Regions from separate parts of the Homo sapiens genome. Here region 2 is linked to region 1. The links are contacts of gene promoters, found by promoter capture Hi-C in blood cells and fetal thymus (Javierre and others, 2016). All regions are on one chromosome and are shown on one strand. Each heading gives the region's core, a stretch centred on a gene start or on the middle of the fragment in contact. The rest is flanking DNA. Distances are from core to core; before and after follow the strand shown.

Region 1 (2,725 bases), core at 82-2,581:
GCCTTGGCCTCCCAGTGCCTTGGCACTGGCCTATTGTGTTTTATATACTATGTTTGTCATCTGGAAAGGCAAGCTCCTGCTCCGTCTTGTAAAGTTTTCCCAGTACTGTAGTAGTTATTTTTATTTTTATTTTTGACAGTCTCGCTCTGTCACCCAGGCTGAAGTGCAGTGGCCCCATCTCGGCTCACTGCAACCTCCGCCTCCCGGGTTCAAGCGATTCTCTTGCCTCATCCTCCTGGGAAGCTGGGATTGCAGGAGTGCACCACTACACCCAACTAATTTTTGTATTTTTCGTAGAGACGGGGTTTCGCCATGTTGGTCAGGCTGGTCTCGACCTTCTGACCTTGTGATTCGCCCGCCTCGGCCTGTCAAAGTGCTGGGATTACAGGCGTGAGCCACCGCGCCCGGCCGTAGTTATTGTTTTATACGATTTTAAGATCATTTAATTAAATCCTCTGAACTCCGTGGAGATTCCAATAGAAGTGTGTATTTGTAATTTTTGAACTGACAACCTTCTGTTACCTTTCATCTAATATGTTGTTGCATCAGTTCAAATACTGTTTTAAATCCTTCGATAAGTCGTCTCTATTCGTAGCTTTTTGGGTCACTTTTTTTTTTTTTTTTTTTTTCCAAAAAAACAGGAAGTCTTTTTACCTGCAGCGTCAACTGAGCCGGTTTTCCGGCGCGCGCCAGCCCCTCCCCTGCTCCCGCCCCAAGGTTCTGCGTTACCATGGGAACAAAGGTTGACGTCACTTAGGGCTTCCTTGCTGGACCCAAGGGTCGATGGTGAAGGGAGACGGGTGGAGAGGCGGTTTTGCTCCATCTACGCATGCGCACTTCCTGCTCCAGGACTCCCCCGCCGTAAATCTCGTTCCGGCTGGGCCTTTTCCGCCGCGACTCTCGCTTAATCCCGGAGAAACTGCCCCCTGGGGGAGGGGAGTAGAAAAAGGCTGGAACCAGCGACAGCCAATCCCGCGACACTACAACGCAGGCGAGATTGATTGAGTCCACCACCGCAGCCAATGAGAGAGCTCGCCGTCGCTCCGTCATAGAGTTCGCCCCACCCCATCCCCTCCTTTCTGGACTCGGAGCTCAGTTCACGCAGTAACAAATGAAGTGCGCGCTGCGACACCTCCCAGCCCACCGAACTCCGCCGCCATTTCCTCGCTTGGCCTAACGGTTCGGCCAATCCCAGCGCGCATCAAGAAGGACTGAGGCTCCGCCAATCGGAGGCCGCCGATTTCGACCCTTCGCCTCGGCCCGGCCCAATCCAGGCCCCGGCCCCGCCGCCCCCGGCCCGCCCCCGCGGTGCCCTCTCTCCTCCCTCTTTGTGCGTCTCGCGCCGCCGCCGCCCGCCGCGTGAGAGGACGGGCTCCGCGCGCTCCGGCAGCGCATTCGGGTCCCCTCCCCCCGGGAGGCTTGCGAAGGAGAAGCCGCCGCAGAGGAAAAGCAGGTGCCGGTGCCTGTCCCCGGGGGCGCCATGGCGACCGGAGCGAACGCCACGCCGTTGGGTAAGCTGGGCCCCCCCGGGCTGCCCCCGCTCCCCGGGCCCAAAGGAGGCTTCGAGCCGGGCCCTCCGCCTGCACCCGGGCCTGGGGCGGGGCTGCTGGCTCCCGGGCCGCCGCCGCCCCCGCCCGTGGGCTCGATGGGGGCCCTGACCGCGGCCTTCCCCTTCGCGGCGCTGCCTCCGCCGCCTCCGCCGCCGCCCCCTCCGCCTCCCCAGCAGCCGCCGCCGCCTCCACCGCCACCGTCCCCCGGCGCCTCGTACCCGCCGCCGCAGCCGCCCCCTCCGCCGCCGCTCTACCAGCGCGTGTCGCCGCCGCAGCCGCCGCCACCCCAGCCGCCGCGTAAGGACCAGCAGCCGGGCCCGGCCGGCGGCGGAGGAGGTGAGTCGGGCCGAGAGAGCGCGAGAGGCGTCGCGCGGACGGGCCCGGCCGCCTGAGGGGCGCGCGGCGGCGGCGACGGCGGCTGCACGCGGCAGGGGCGCGCGTGCGCGCACGGGGAGGCCCGGGCGGAGGCGCCCCTGGGCGCGCGCGGCCTGGTTCTAGGGCCTCGAGTGCGCACGCGCGCTGTGGGGGGAGGGCTGGGCGGGCGGGAGGCGCTCTGTGCGCAGACGCAGTGAGGTGGCCGGGCTGTGCGGCGCAACTGTATAGACTGGGGGCCCACTATTGCTGTCCAGTCCGCTGGTGTCGGGAACAGGGGTGGCGGGTGTTCAGCGCTGGACGGGGTGCTAGCTGTGAATGCCAGCAGGGCGTGAAAGCCTCACCTGATGACGTGCAGCGACTCCCTTCTGGTCTTGAGGAACCAGAATGGGAACCGTACCAAGGATAGCTCCTCTGCTTCTACAGCAAGGCAGGGTTTTCATCCGGGAGAGGTTGGCATGCTTCAGATGATGGTTGGGTCTGATCTTTCTTGGTCTCTTTTGGGGAGAGAATTTTAGTTTGTTTTTTTTTTTAAATCTGTTCAGTATGTTTAGATCTCAGTCTGATCGGCTGCCCTGTCGCTTTGTTTTAAAAAGCTTTTCCCTCTGATCCTGTACCCCTTGGGAAATAGAAGGACTCTTTTGTGGCAAATGTAGGGAGTTTCTGCCTATGTACGGGGAAAGGAGAACTTGGCTGCTATTGTATAGGTTGTTGAATTTTTGATAGATCCTTTTAAGAGTTCAGACCCTCAGTGTCCAACTGGCCAGGAAAACTGAATGCTGATCTTGGCTAAACTTATGAAG
Region 2 (2,993 bases), core at 229-2,728, 310 kb before region 1:
CCAGCATACCCGTAAGCTTGACTGGTTCTCGCTGAAACCTCCAGATTGGCAGGGCTTAATTTTTAGGAAAGAGGAACTAGGAGCTTTAATTTTTAGGAAAGACAGTGAGGCCTAGAAAGGAAGAATAACTTGCCTGAACTTACACAGCAGGTAAGGAACTTTAACAGGACTAGAATCTGGGCTCTGAGACTCGGGGGACTCACTGTCCTGCTGCTTGAGGAGGGCCTGGAAACCAGTCACCAAGCTGGCCCCTGAGGCTGGCCTGATCCCCCCGAGGTGCCAAGGCCTCACCATAGCAGACAAGGCGGGTCGTCTCTCGGCTGGCCAGGGGTATGTTGCACAGGCGGCAATTGGGGTTGTAGTCGCTATCTTGGAGCCATTGCAGGTAGGACTGGACGATGCACTGGAGTGGGAGAGAGATGTCACAACTGGTGCTGGGGCTGCTCGGCCTATCACCCCAAGGTCCGACTGTCTCTTTTTCTCTAGCCACAGAGGAGACTCATCCTTTCGTTTGTTTAATCAATAAATATTTATTGAGCACATACTGTGCACCAGACTCTCTCTTGGGAACGGGGGATATATCAGTGAACAAAATAAATCAAGTCCTTGCCCTTGTGGGGCTTACATTCTAGCGCGGGGCCCCTCATGGATTTGGAGGAAGCCAATACCGCCTTGCCCACCCAGTGCCCTGCTCAGTCGCTCCCCTGAAGGCCCCACCTTGGCGTGATTGGCTACCAGGCAGTGCTCGCAGACGTTGACCCGATGTTCGAAGCAGAACAGGTTGGTCACCTTTCTCTTGGGGCACTTACAAAGCCCCATGATCGATCCTGGGAAAGGGGCATGAGTTGGTAGGAAGTCAGGTTCTGGTGGCCACCACTACGCTCTCACCAGCCCAGTTTCCACTCTTAACTCCCCCAGACACCTCTCATATTCGCCCCGATCTCAGATTCCTGCCCACTGTCCCTCCTTATGCGGAGAAACACCCCCTGCATAAATCCCGCCTCCGGCGACCCCTCAATCCTTCTGGATCCCGCCCCCGGCCAGGCCCCTCCATCAGAGGCTCCCCGATACTACCGGCCCCGCCCCCAAGACCTCTCCTGAGCCCCACCCCCTCCAAGTCCCGCCCCTTCTCTACAGACCCCAGTCTCTGTGTTTACTGATCGGCCGCTGCACTGGTTCCGAAGGGCGGTAGCGATGGCTCGAGGCGCGGAAGGGCAGGGACCACTCTCCCCAGGGCTCCTGCGCCTCTCCCTTCAGCCCCGGCCGCCCCGATTATCCCTCCGCTGCCACGTCTCTTCCGGGTGCGGCGCGCGCTGATGACGCCATCGCGCCCCTGGGCCACGCCTCCGCTGCCGCTAGAGGTGAAGACGGGTGGAAAAGACTCGGGGTTCCGAGGGCCGCAGACCGCTAGCCCTACGTCACTTCCGCTTCCTTTCCCGCAGGGCGGGTAATTCGAACGTTTTTTGCAGCGAGTGGCCTTCCCGGTTGGCGCGCGCCCGGGGCGGCGGCGCTGGAGGAGCTCGAGACGGAGCCTAAGTTATGTCTGGGAGGCGAACGCGGTCCGGAGGAGCCGCTCAGCGCTCCGGTGAGCGGAGGGCGCGCGGGAGACGTGAGGTCGAGCCGTTTGGGGGACGCAGTCCGGTGAAAGATGGCCTCTTCCCTCCCGCTGCCGCCGCCGGAGGAGGCGCCCTTAAAAGGGCTTGTTTGGGAATCTTCTCGCTGTCTCTAGAACCTGTTCTCTGGACTCTAAGGTCTAGAGTCCTCCTCTACCACTTAACTTTTTTCTCTTTCCAGGGCCAAGGGCCCCATCTCCTACTAAGCCTCTGCGGAGGTCCCAGCGGAAATCAGGCTCTGAACTCCCGAGCATCCTCCCTGAAATCTGGCCGAAGGTGAGCCCCAGATTTCTCACTTCCTCCCCTTGTGGCCCCTCACCTAATGTTGAGCTCACGTTCATCCCTCTTCTCCAGACACCCAGTGCGGCTGCAGTCAGAAAGCCCATCGTCTTAAAGAGGATCGTGGCCCATGCTGTAGAGGTAAAGGCTAAGGAGAGTGTTGTGGGTGGTTAGGCGGGCAAAACTGGGGACCAGCTATGTGATCAATTGGTATTGTCCCCCGCAGGTCCCAGCTGTCCAATCACCTCGCAGGAGCCCTAGGGTGAGTTCACTTTCATCTACTTAATTAAGTAGAATCTGGGTCACTCTAGAGCTGGACAGCACACATTGGCTCCTCACATCTGCCCAGGGAGCTGTTTTGCAGTACTGCAAAAACAGTTTGCCTGTGGGCACCTGCATGCATTGCCAGTCTTGATTACTCCCTGAAGACTTAATACACTTAACTTTTTATGCCTTGTGTATTTCTACCATTTTCCTGGAACTTCCTTTAAAAGCTGAGCTATGTCTTAACTCCACGTACTGCCTTTCTAATCCATTATGCCTTCAGCTTTCATGTATGGGTGTTCTGAGATAAGTCATGTGTATGACATTTTTACAGTTTTAGCAGAAGTTATTATCAAAGGATGTTTCATTAATAGACAATCTGAAGACATACTGACTGAGAAATGTGAACTCCTTTGAAGAGCTGATAGGGCTTAGAGTCAACTGGGGAGAAAGACCAATGACAAGTGATAGCAACGTTGTGTACTGGGACTGCAATAAGGAATACTAGATGCTATGATGGTAGCTAACCCAGACCATGTGGCTCAGGGAATGTTTCGTGGAAGAAGAAACATTTGAACTGAGTCTTTAAAGACAAGTAGAGGCCGGGTGCAGTGGCTCACGCTTGTGATCCTAGCATTTTGGGAGGCTGAGGCGGGCAGATCACTTGTGGTCAAGAGTTTAAGACCAGCCTGGCCAACGTGGTGAAACCCTGTGTCTACTAAAAATACAAAATTAGCCAGGCATGGTGGCACGTGCCTATAGTCCCAGCTACTCAGGAGGCTGAGGCAGGAGAATCGCTTAAACCCAGGAGGCGGAGGTTGCAGTGGGCCGAGATCA

What was found. The method cuts DNA at HindIII sites, captures the fragments that hold promoters and counts their contacts. A CHiCAGO score of 5 or more calls a contact.
Region 2: the fragment with the promoter of CDCA5 here is called in contact with the fragment with the promoter of SF1 in region 1 in 1 of 17 cell types (M2 macrophages); the score reaches 6.5 in M2 macrophages.

What each region holds. Positions count from the first base shown.
Region 1 is chr11:64,777,148-64,779,872 of GRCh38, reverse strand. SF1 (splicing factor 1) reads left to right here and starts at 1,331. Exons shown (of 13, transcript NM_004630.4): 1 at 1,331-1,511. The coding sequence starts at 1,481. RefSeq lists enhancers at 867-976, 953-1,554 and silencers at 1,217-1,616, 1,877-2,186. The HindIII fragment of the contact is 14,384 bases long and covers 1-2,520 here.
Region 2 is chr11:65,082,525-65,085,517 of GRCh38, reverse strand. It overlaps CDCA5 (cell division cycle associated 5), which reads left to right and starts at 1,478. Exons shown (of 6, transcript NM_080668.4): 1 at 1,478-1,585; 2 at 1,795-1,889; 3 at 1,968-2,033; 4 at 2,119-2,154. The coding sequence starts at 1,540. ZFPL1 (zinc finger protein like 1) reads right to left here and starts at 1,296. Exons shown (of 8, transcript NM_006782.4): 1 at 1,140-1,296; 2 at 718-827; 3 at 292-403. The coding sequence starts at 819. RefSeq lists enhancers at 1-577, 1,167-1,436, 1,517-1,746. The HindIII fragment of the contact is 9,431 bases long and covers 19-2,993 here.